Linked DNA regions of Homo sapiens: regions 2, 3 and 4 are each linked to region 1. Evidence: promoter capture Hi-C in 16 types of primary human blood cells and fetal thymus (Javierre and others, 2016). All regions are on one chromosome and are shown on one strand. The core of a region is centred on a gene start or on the middle of the fragment in contact, and the rest is flanking DNA. Distances in the headings are between cores, read along the strand shown. Region 1 holds the start of NUP160 (nucleoporin 160). Region 2 overlaps MADD (MAP kinase activating death domain). Region 3 overlaps MADD (MAP kinase activating death domain). Region 4 has its middle 2.2 kb from the start of ACP2.

The links. Contacts are between HindIII fragments. The CHiCAGO score rates a contact against its expected background, and 5 or more counts as called.
Region 2: a fragment that was not itself captured here is called in contact with the fragment with the promoter of NUP160 in region 1 in 1 of 17 cell types (total CD8 T cells); the score reaches 5.6 in total CD8 T cells.
Region 3: a contact is called between a fragment that was not itself captured here and the fragment with the promoter of NUP160 in region 1, in 2 of 17 cell types (erythroblasts and activated CD4 T cells). The highest score is 5.5, in erythroblasts.
Region 4: a fragment that was not itself captured here is called in contact with the fragment with the promoter of NUP160 in region 1 in 1 of 17 cell types (fetal thymus); the score reaches 5.1 in fetal thymus.

Annotation. Positions count from the first base shown.
Region 1 is chr11:47,846,889-47,849,735 of GRCh38, forward strand. NUP160 (nucleoporin 160) reads right to left here and starts at 1,462. Exons shown (of 36, transcript NM_015231.3): 1 at 1,331-1,462; 2 at 960-1,071. The coding sequence starts at 1,430. RefSeq lists an enhancer at 1,400-1,959. The HindIII fragment of the contact is 7,211 bases long and covers 1-2,847 here.
Region 2 is chr11:47,312,442-47,315,144 of GRCh38, forward strand. The region is part of intron 29 of MADD (MAP kinase activating death domain); the gene reads left to right. Among named protein-coding and RNA genes, the nearest start is that of MYBPC3, 39 kb to the right of the region's middle. The HindIII fragment of the contact is 1,449 bases long and covers 729-2,177 here.
Region 3 is chr11:47,293,001-47,295,700 of GRCh38, forward strand. MADD (MAP kinase activating death domain) reads left to right here. Exons shown (of 37, transcript NM_001376571.1): 22 at 883-983; 23 at 2,496-2,579. Among named protein-coding and RNA genes, the nearest start is that of MADD-AS1, 22 kb to the left of the region's middle. The HindIII fragment of the contact is 3,479 bases long and covers 1-2,700 here.
Region 4 is chr11:47,249,621-47,252,481 of GRCh38, forward strand. It overlaps a transcript of NR1H3 not described here. Among named protein-coding and RNA genes, the nearest start is that of ACP2, 2.2 kb to the left of the region's middle. The HindIII fragment of the contact is 3,279 bases long and covers 1-2,861 here.

The DNA of each region.
Region 1 (2,847 bases), core at 212-2,711:
TTTTCCAACCTTTGCTCCCCTCCCTCCCTCCTTTTGGAATCCCTAGTGTTAACTGTTCCCATCCAAAAATGCAATTTTGATGTTAGTAACTCTTTAAAAATCTTTCAATTATTACTCAATGTACTTAGGATAAAATCCAAAAATCCTTAAAAATGGCCTAAGGGTCCCTCATGGTCCGAGTCCTGCCTACCTCTCCAGCCTCAGTATCTCACATCACTTTCTGTTTTACCCACTGCACTTAAGCCACACAGATCTTTGGTCAGTTCCAAACCCGCCACATTCTTTCCACTTCATGACCTTTGCATATGGTGATCCTACTTGCTGGACTCCTCTCTGTCCACTCCCCATGCCTGGCTAACCTCGTGTCCTTTAGATCTCAGGGTAACTGTGAATTCCTTAAAGCCTTTCCCTGCCCCACTAATTATATTTGGTCCTCTTATTAGCCTCTCATAACCCGTATATTTTTCCTCTAGGGCAAGTTTTCCTCCAAAAAATTTCCCCATGAAAAGTGGGTCTACATCTATTCTGACATTGCTACAACGTCTTGCATGATGAAAATTGCAGTTTTGTTCATTTCGTCCTGGTACCTAGCACAATGCCTGACATATTGAAGCTCGAACGTATTTGTACAATGAAGGAAGCTGTAAAGCACTATAAAAACATAACGGGTTCATGTTTAAAATTGGTCTTATGGGCTTTATTCCCCTAAGCTACATTTCCTCTGCTTCTGGTGTTGCTTGGTGTATGTGTGTGTGGGGGTGGGGGGGGGGAGGGGGAGAGGTATCTCTTCTAGAACTCTGTGTCTCAGTTTTCCCGATTCTGATACGAACTGAAAAAACAATCTTTCTCTTTCCCTAAGTGTCAATTACCGCTTCTAGAATAGCACTTTGGGTACAGCGACGAAAATTTATACACCAAACCCTACCTTCCAGGGGAGTTTGGCGAACCACAACACTTACCAATGAATGAACCTGTTTCTGGTTACGGAGAACAACTTGCCACTCTCCACGTAGTAAAAGCCTCCCGCGCTTTCACTGTATTTTACGGCGCCAGCCACGGCATTTGCAGTCCCTGCAAAATGAACGTGGTCAGCCTGCACACGCGTCTTCTGAGAAATGACAGGGACTAAGGGAGCTGACAAAGCAGAGAGTGACAGACTGACAACCCATACAAAGAAAAGAGGAAAACGTCGGACATCAAGGAATCTCTGATCCCGGGGCTAGAGGCATGTGGACTCAGGAGGATGAAACAGGGCGTCAGGGACCCTGGGACCCATGAGAGGAGCCCGAGGGGACAGATGGGATCGCACCCTCCCTGGCCATTTCCGTACCAATGCTGCAGACTGTGAATTCCCGAAAGTGCCTCGGCCTTTCGCGCTCAGCTCCGCTTAGCTCCACGAAGCTCCGTTCCAGGGCTCCCGCCGCCGCCATCTTCCCGCCGTCGCCGCGACGCCCAACGGAACAAAGGCAGGGCCGCGCGGTCGCCGTCACTTCCGGGGGTGGGGCGGGCGGAGCTGCGGACAGGTGAAGCATTCCGGGAGCAGAAAGGCGGCTCCGGCCCTTCGTTGCGAGGCTTCCACCGGGAGAATGAGGGTGGGCAGCGAGGAATCCAGAAGAGAAGGGGGCAGGGGAGGCAGACTCTATCTGCGGGAACCTTCCAGTGGCCGGCTGGAACGCCTCCGGAGGGCGGTGCTCTTTTCTCAGCGGCCGCAGGGCAGGGGGCGGGGCCGGGTTTGTTTCTGTTTCTAAAACGCGGGGCTCAGTCGACCAGGAGGGGCGAGGTCCGGGGAGTCCCGGCCTTTCGGCGTCCTCTGCCGGATCCCGGGTTTATGGTCACCTCTCCCTCGGTTAGGGTGTCCGTCTGTAAATCTTTGGCGATCCTCCCTTCGCTCTTCAGTGGCGACACTTGGGATGGCGGGGTGAGGAAGGGGTAGTGAGGGAAAGGCCTTTGGTTTTGGTCTTTCCCCTCCCCAAGAGACTGTATTCGTGTATTCCTGTATAATGAAACGTAATGTGGTAAACCTTGGTGCTGCCACTTGCTGAGGTTACCTGAGTGCTACTCACTTGGATACGTGAAAGGAATTTGCCATTCCTTCCACCCGTGATCTTGCACTTGGCTGTCAATGCAGTAAGGGCCCATAGTGGGTGTTTAGAAGATATTGTGGGAGTAGATGTTCAAAATCGAGGAAAATGCTAATCTCCAGCGGGGAAGGTTTTGTTCCTTAGTGATAGCCAATAGAAGTTAAAGCACTTCTATTACCAGTGACCACAACCATTCCCTGTCATTCTCCGTTTCATTTATCTGGTTCCGACCATCATTTTCTATCTTTCCACTTCACTCCCTCTGGGACACCAACTTTGGCAGTGCAGTCCCCTCATTCTACCTGGAATCCATTGTTCTACAAAATCTTCACTGTCCCACACTTCTTTGGTGTTTCTTTCTTATCCTGAATACCATTAAATTACTTCATTGCCTAACTCTTCATCGGTAAAAACTACAACTTCGACTACATTCAAATCTGTAGCTGAACATGACTGGAGAAAACTATACACCCGGGTCGGGCGTGGCTCCCAGCATTTTGGGAGGCCAAGGCGTGAGGATCACTTGAGGTCAGGAGTCCGAGACCAGCCTGGCCAACATGGTGAAACCCGGTCTCTACCAAAAATAGAAAAATTAGCCGGGCGCGGTGGCTCACGCCTGTAATCCCAGCGCTCTGGGAGGCAGAGGTGGGTGGATCACGAGGTAAGGAGTTTCAGACCAACCTGGCCAACATGGTGAAACCCTGTCTCTATTAAAGATACAAAAAATTAGCCGGGCATGGTGGTGCACGCCTGTAATCCCAGCTAC
Region 2 (2,703 bases), core at 203-2,702, 530 kb before region 1:
GAGACAGAGTTTCACTCTCTTGTTGCCCAGACTGGAGTGCAATGGCGCAATTTTGGCTCACTGCAACCTCTGCCTCCCGAGTTCAAGCAGTTTTCCTGCTTCAGCCTCCCGAGTAGCTGAAGCTCCTGAGGTTACAGGCATGCACCACCACGCCCAGCTAATTTTTGTATTTTCAGTAGAGATGGGCATTCCCCATGTTGGCCAGGCTGATCTTGAACTCCTGACCTCAAGTGATCTGCCTGCCTTAGCTCCCAAAGTTCTGGGATTACGGGTGTGAACCACCGCACCTGGCTTACACTCTTAGTTTTTTAAAAATGCCAGTTGTGCTTGTAAATGTCCTTGAAGAAGCAGTGAAGACTGTTACTCTTATTAGATTGATTAATTATAAATGTTTTTAATATTCTTTGTGACAAAATGGGAAGTACACATAAAGCATCTCTGTTGCAAACCCAGTATGATGGTTGTTTTGAAGAAAAGCAATTTGCAGCCTTGATTTGTTCACCTTGAGTTGCAAGTGAACTTAATCGCTTTGTTCATTGAACATCATTTTTACTGGAAAGGACAATTAATAAACCATGGTTATTCAGAGTACCCAACTGGCAGACATTTTCCTTCAGTTAATCAAGTGAGCCTGTTGTTTCAGGGAAAACAACTGACAGTATTTGTTGCCAATGATAAGATTCAGCTTTTAAGTGAAAATAAGAATTTTGGCAGAGTTTTGAACTTGAAGCTTCCCAATATTTAAAGACTTTTCTAATGAGATTGGTGGTGATATTAATGAATGTGATTTTTTAAACATTGATTTAATATTACAAAATATGTCAACATTTGGAAGAGCTGTGTAACTCAGTGAAACACTATTTTCTTTCTTTTTTTTTTTTTGGAGACGGAGTCTCGCTCTGTGGCCCAGGCTGGAGTGCAGTGGCAGGATGCTGGCTCACTGCTACCTCCGCCTCCTGGGCTCCTGGGTTCAAGCAATTCTCCTGCCTCAGCCTCCTGAGCAGCTGGGAGTACAGGCGTATGCTGCCACACCTGGCTAGTTTTTTTTTTTTTTTGTATTTTAATAGAGACGGGGTTTCACCATCTTGCCCAGGCTGTGGTCTTGAACTCCTGAGTTTAGTCAATCCGCCCACCTTGGCCTTCCAAAGTTCTAGGATTACAGGCACCCAGCCAACAGTATTTTCTAAATACCAATGTATGATGTTGTAAATTCAAGTATGGATAAAAGATCTACTCAAAATGCAAGGCAGAGATATGGATCTTAATTTTTAAATAACATTTTTTTTCAGTCTGGGGAACATAGACCCCATTTCTTTTTGTTTGTTTGTTTGTTTTTGAGACGGAGTCTCACTCTGTCACCCGGGCTGGAGTGCAGCGGCGCGATCTCGGCTCACTACAACCTCCGCCTCCCAGGTTCAAGCTATTCTCCTGCCTCAGCCTCATGAGTAGCTGGGATTACAGGTGCCCGCCACAACGCCCGGCTAATTTTTATGTTTTTAGTAGAGATGGGGTTTCACCACGCTGGTCAGGCTGGTCTCCAACTCCTGACCTTTTGATCCGCCCACCTCGGCCTCCCAAAGTGCTGGGATTACAGGTGTGAGCCACCGCGCCCAGCCAAGGGAGACCCCATTTCTACAAAAAATAAAAAAATTAGCTAGGCATGGTGGCATGCACCTGTAGTCCCAGCTACTTGGGAGGCTGAGGTGGGAGGATCACTTGAGCTCAGGAGGTTGAGGCTGCCGTGAGCACCACTGCACTCCAGCCTGGGTGACAGAATGAGACCCTGTCTCAAAAAAAAAAAAAAAGTGTATGGAGAATAGGGTCTCACTTTGTTGCCCAGGCTGGTCTCCAACTCCTGCCTGGGCTCAAACGGTACTCCTGACTTGGCCTCCCAAAGTGTTGGGATTATAGGAATGAGCCACCATGTCTGGCCTAAATGGATTTTAATGTAACAATGTAAAATGTTCATTGATGTGCTTTCAGATTCCACACTGCAACTAACTTTCAAAAGCTGCTTTTGCTGGGTGTTGTGGTTTATGCCTGTAATTCCAGGTACTTGGGAGGCTGAGGCAGGAGTGTCACTTAAGCCCAGGAGTTCAGAGCTGTGGTGGGCTATGGTCATGCCACTGCACTCCAGCCTGGATGACAGAGCGAAACCTTGTCTCTAAAAAAAAAGAAGCTTCTGCTTCCCAAGTTCTGGTGTAGTGTTAAAGAAGAATACGTCTATTTATCTGAAAAGGCTATGAAAATCCTCTTCCATTTTCCAAATACGTATCTCTGAGGTCAAGTTTTTTTCATATACCTCAACCAAAGCAACATACTGCAACAGACTCAATGCAGAGGCAGATAGGAGAATGCAACTATTTGATTCTAAGCCAAACATTAAAGAGATTTGCAAAAATGTGAAACAGTGCCTTTTTTTTGAAAATATAGTTATTTTATTAAAAATGTTTATATTACTATGTAATGGGTTATATTAATCATTAATTGTTTTTATAATTAATCATTTGAGAAATTTCTGTTTAAATTTCTAGTATGTAAATATCTATAAATATAACTCACATAAACAAAAGCTCTTTGGAATCTTCAATAAATTTTAAGAGATATAGGGCCTCTGAGACCAAAACATCTGAAACCACTTCCCTGGTGACCAGTGGCCAGCAGATGAGACTGTGCTGAGGAAGCCGATATGAATTTGATTGC
Region 3 (2,700 bases), core at 69-2,568, 550 kb before region 1:
CCTAGGCACGCTTTCTTGCTTTCTGTCATTCTGTCTTTCTGCCATACCATTGTGGGTGGGTGGGGGACAAGGGGGGTGGTTTTCATCTCAAACATAGAAGTTGTAGGATGGAGGTAGGCAGTGCCCACCAAAACAGCTGGTGTTTCTTATCTCATCGGGCCCAACCTTTTCTACCTCCTTTAGACACATTTGTTTGGGAAGCATTAAGGGACCTGGGGACCATTAAATGGTTTCAGGTACCAGTGAAGCTCAGACTCTTGAGTGCCATGGAATGTGGTTTAGACATTTGTTCGTGGAGCTTTTCTTTTTTTTTTTTTTTGAGATGGAGTCTTGCTCTGCTGCTCAGGCTGGAGTGCAGTGGTACGATCTTGCCTCACTGCAACCTCTGCCTCCAGGGCTCAAGCAATTGTCGTGCCTCAACCTCCCGAGTAGCTGAGATTACAGGTGTGCATCACCACGCCCGGCTAATTTTTGTATTTTTTGGTAGAGACAGGGTTTCATCATGTTGGCCAGGCTGGTCTCAAACTCCTGACTTCAGGTGATCTACCTGCCTCAGCCTCCCAAAGTGCTGGGATTACAGTCGTGAGCCACCATGCCCAGCCTTGTGGAGCTTCTCTGTTTTAAGATGATTTGCTCAGAATTTTCTCAGGTTGAGAAGATGGCTGGAGAACCCATTGAGACCAGGTCTGATTTGTCCTACTTGGTTCTTAAGGCATCTGGGGTCCTCTTTTTCCAGTGGGTCCTGAGTGGGGGGTAGTCCTTGGAAAGGTGACTAGGATGGGCTGAACGGGTCTGGGAACAGCCTGTGCTGCCGTCCCACCCCCTTTACCAGCCTGCCCCTAGCCTTTGTGCACGGAGTAACAGAAGTCTTCCCCTACTCAGGGCCTGAAGTAATCAAACCTGTCTTTGACCTTGGTGAGACAGAGGAGAAAAAGTCCCAGATCAGCGCAGACAGTGGTGTGAGCCTGACGTCTAGTTCCCAGGTTTGTGACAACCTTGTTGAAATTTGCAAGTATTAAATATGCTGTCTCAGAATACTTCTTTAAGTTAAAATAGAACAGTCAGACAGCCGGGCACAGTGGCTCATGCTTGTAATCCCAGCACTTTGGGAGGCCGAGGCGGGTGGGTCACCTGAGGTCGGGAGTTCGAGACCAGCCTGACCAACATGGTGAAACCCCGCCCCTATGAAAAATACAAAATTAGCCAGGCATGGTGGCGCATGCCTGTAATCCCAGCTACTCGGGAGGCTGAGGCAGGAGAAATGCTTTAACCGGTGGGCGGAGGTTGTGGTGAGCCGAGATTGTGCTGTTGCACTCCAGCCTGGGCAACAAAGGTGAAACTCCATCTCAAAAAAAAAAAAAAATAAAAATAAAAATAAAATAGCCAGGTGCGGTGGTTCATGCCTGTAATCACAGGACTTTGGGAGGCCGAGGCAGGTGGGTCACTTGAGGTCAGGAGTTGGAGTTGGAGACCAGCCTGGCCAACGTAGTGAAACCCCGTCTCTACTAAAAATACAAAAGTTAGCTGGGTGTGGTGGCGGGCACCTGTAATCCCAGCTACTTAGGAGGCTGAGGCAGGAGAATCACTGGAACCCGGGAGGCAGAGGTTGCAGCGAGCTGAGATTGCGCCACTGCACTCCAGCCTGTGCCGCAGAGTGAGACTCCGTCTCAAAAAAAAAAAAAAAAAAAAAAAATGAACAACCTCAAAACAATATAAATAACTAATGATAAGGGAATTATTAAATAAGTATAATAGATCCATGTAATGCAATATTAGTATCCATTAAAGATTGTGTTTTCAAAAATTTAGTGACATGGGAAACTGTTTAACAAAGCTACCTATAGTGTGACTCCAATTTTATTTTTAAAATGTATTGAGAAAAAACTGAAAGGAAATATACTAAAAACAGTGGTTAACGTGGGAGGTAGATTTACAGCTTGTTCTTATTTCCTTATTCTTTCATGTATTTTCTACAGTGAGCATGTACTTCTTTAACGCATTGTTTTTTGTTTTTTTGTTTTTTTTTTTGAGACAGGGTCTCATTCTGTCGCTGCAGCTGGAGAGCAGTGGTGTGCTCTCTGCTCACTGCAGCCTCAAACTCCTGGGCTCAAGTGATGCTCCCACCTCAGCGTCCTGAGCATCTGGGACCGCAGGCACCCACCACCATGCCTGGCTAAGTTTGTGTATTTTTTGTAGAGATGGGGTTTCGCCATGTTGCCCAGCCTGGTCTCCAACTCCTGGGCTGAAATGATCCTCCCACCTCAGCCTCCCAAAGTGCTAGGACTACAGGCGTGAGCCACTGTGCCCGGCCTATTTCTTTTTTTTATTACATAAGTTGTACATATTTTATATTCTGGAAACAAAAGTTGCTCGTGACTTCTCTAAGGATGATAACAGAAGGGTGGGGATGAGGAGAAAGAAAAAGGTACAGTATTTCTGTGGGAAACTGAGAGGAGATTGGACACCTCCCCTAATGTTCCTGTGTCTTGTTTCAGAGGACTGATCAAGACTCTGTCATCGGCGTGAGTCCAGCTGTTATGATCCGCAGCTCAAGTCAGGATTCTGAAGTTAGCACCGTGGTAGGGGAACACCACACTGGCATCTTGGTGGGTGGGGTGTGGATTTCCCCTTTGGAAAAGGGTGCTACTTTCTCTTTGGAGGCTGCTCTGAGTCTCAGGTCAGCATGGTTCTCATGGTGGA
Region 4 (2,861 bases), core at 144-2,643, 600 kb before region 1:
GTTTCCACAGAATCAATGGCCCTCTTGGCATTGACCATTAGGATTCAGGTGCAGCCAGTTTGGCCTCAGGACTTTGTGACTCCTGTGACGGTTGCAGGTCAGATCATAGGTCCTGGGGATGCTTTGATTCAGATCTGCCTACTGGAAGCAAATCTCCTCAGATCTTTGGGAAACAAAACTGATCAGGCTTGGCCTGGGCGCCGTGGCTCACCTGTAATACCAGCACTTTGAGAGGCCGAAGCAGGCAGATCACCTGAGGTCAGGAGTTCGAGACCAGCCTGGCCAACGTGGCGAAACCCCGTCTCTACTAAAAATACAAAAAAAAAAAAATTAGCCGGGTGCAGTGGCGTGCTCCTGTAATCCCAGCTACTCTGGAGGCTGAGGCAGGAGAATCGCTTGAACTCGGAAAGCGGAGGTTGCAGTGAGCTGAGATCACGCCACTGCACTCCAGCCTGCGCGACAGAGTGAGACTGTCTCAAAACAACAACAACAAAAACCTGATTAGGCTTGGTGTGGTGGCTCACGTTTCTAATCCCAGCACTTTGGGAGGCCAGGGTGGGAAGATTGCTTGAGCCCAGGAGTTGGAGACCAGCCTGAGCAGCTTAGGAAGATCTCCTCTCTACAAAAAAAAGTTTAAAAATTAGCTGGGTGTGGTGGCACACACCTGTGGTCCTAGCTCCTCGGGAGGCTGAGGTGGGAGGATCACCTTCAGCCCAGGAGGTTGAGGCTGCAGTGAGCCATGATGGTGCAACTGCACTCCAGTCTAGATGACAGAGCAAGACTGTGTCTCAAAAAGAAGAAAAGAAAAAAAAAGATCAGGATTATCTGTCTTTATTTTGTCCTAGGACTCCAGATTCAATTATTTATATATACTTCAGGATTTAAACTTTGCTTCCAGAGTTGTCATGGAGGAGGCCAAGAAGCAAATAGAGTAAGAGCCAAAGCCTGGGTAGCCAAACAGTTCTTAACCTTCTTATTTAATCACAAGCCCCTTTATGAATCACATGAAAATTTTGCACCTCTCCTCCAGAAAAATGTTCACACATATAAACACACACATGGAATTTTGCATATAATCCCAAATGGTTCACAAAGACCATTTATTACAGGTTTCATAAATCAGCATCTCTGAATACCTGATTTAACCTAGTCCTCTTACTTTACAGCTTAGGAAACAAACCTAAAGAGAGGAAGTGACTTGCCCAAATTCACAGTTTGGGCATGGGCACAGTTTGAGAATGGATTAAAAGTCAAGTTTTGGCCGGGTGCGTGCTCACGCCTGTAATCCCGGCACTTTGGGAGGCCGAGGCGGGTGGATCACGAGGTCAGGAGATCAAGACCATCCTGGCTAACATGGTGAAACCCCATCTCTACTAAAAATACAAAAAGTTAGCCGGGTGTGGTGGCAGGTGCCGGTAGTCCCAGCTACTCAGGAGGCTGAGGCAGGAGAATGTCGTGAACCCAGCAGGCGGAGCTTGCAGTGAGCGGAGATCGTGCCACTGCACCCCAGCCTGGGCGACAGAGCAAGACTCCGTCTCAAAAAAAAAAAGTCAGGTTTTGTGATTTTCAGTTAAATAGTCTATAATGGGCTGCTTCTTGCAGGCTACTCAAACTGCATTACTAAACTGTAATTGGTGATCCCGAAATCCTTTCAATAAAGAGGTATCTGTCAAAGGAAACCTTTTCAAATTAGTTGGACTAAACGGGACCTAGGCCGGACATGGCTCACACCTGTAATCCCAGCACTTTGGGAGGACGAGGCGGGTGGATCACCTGAGGTCAGCAGTTCAAGACCAGCCTGGCCACCATGGTGAAACCCCATCTCTACTAAAAATACAAAAATTAGCCAGTCGTGGTGGCGTGTGCCTGTAATCCCAGCTACCGGGGAGGCTGAGACAGGAGAATCACTTGAACCCAGGATACAGAGGCTGCCGTGAGCCGAGATTGTGCCACTTCACTCCAGCCTGGGCAACAGAGCGAGACTCTGTCTCAAAAAAAAAAATAAAATAAAGAGGGCTTGGGTAATTGGCAAAATGCTGCATATTAGTGGTAGTGGGAGGCAGTTGAGTGTTTTGTTTTAATGGGCCTCTTACTCCTTGCAAACTAGCCAGACCATTGTACTTTCAGAGTGTAAATCTTTGGCTCACCAAATTTCAGCTATCTCTCAAATTCAGCTTTTGCTTTTCTTCCCACTTGCTCAAATATGTCTATATTCTTTGTGCATGCAAGTATCCCACGTAGGAGGGATTGATGAAGCAGATACTATTTCAGTTTTTATAGGGAGAAACTATTCCAGGAAGGGTGGGGATTACAGCGCAAGTAGATAGTAGAGCCTGAAGCTGAGCCCTAGTTTCTTCACCCCTTTGCCTTCAGCTTTTGCATTTTCTGCCAGATGATTCTGTGGTTCTTACACTTTGGTTCGTAACTACAGGTGCAAAAAAAAAAAAGAAAAAAAAAAAACACATGTAGATAGATGGATATGTGGGCCTATCCCAGATCAAATAAATCAGAATCTCTGAAGGTGAGGACAGGAACCACTACCATATTCTGTGTTGGCAGAAGCAAACCTAAATCCAGGTATGTTAGCCATTTTTTTTCCATCTGAAGAGGCAGTTTTTGTTTTGTTTTGTTGTTGTTGTTGTTGTTGTTGTTGTTTTTGAGATGGAGTTTTGCTCTTGTTGCCCAGGCTGGAGTGCAATGGCGTTATCTCGGCTCACAGCAACCTCCGCCTCCCGGGTTCAAGCGATTCTCCTGCCTCAGCCTCCCGAGTAGCTGGGATTACAGGCATGTGCCACCACGCCTGGCTAATTTTGTATTTTTAGTAGAGACAGCTTCTCCATGTTGGTCAGGCTGGTCTCGAA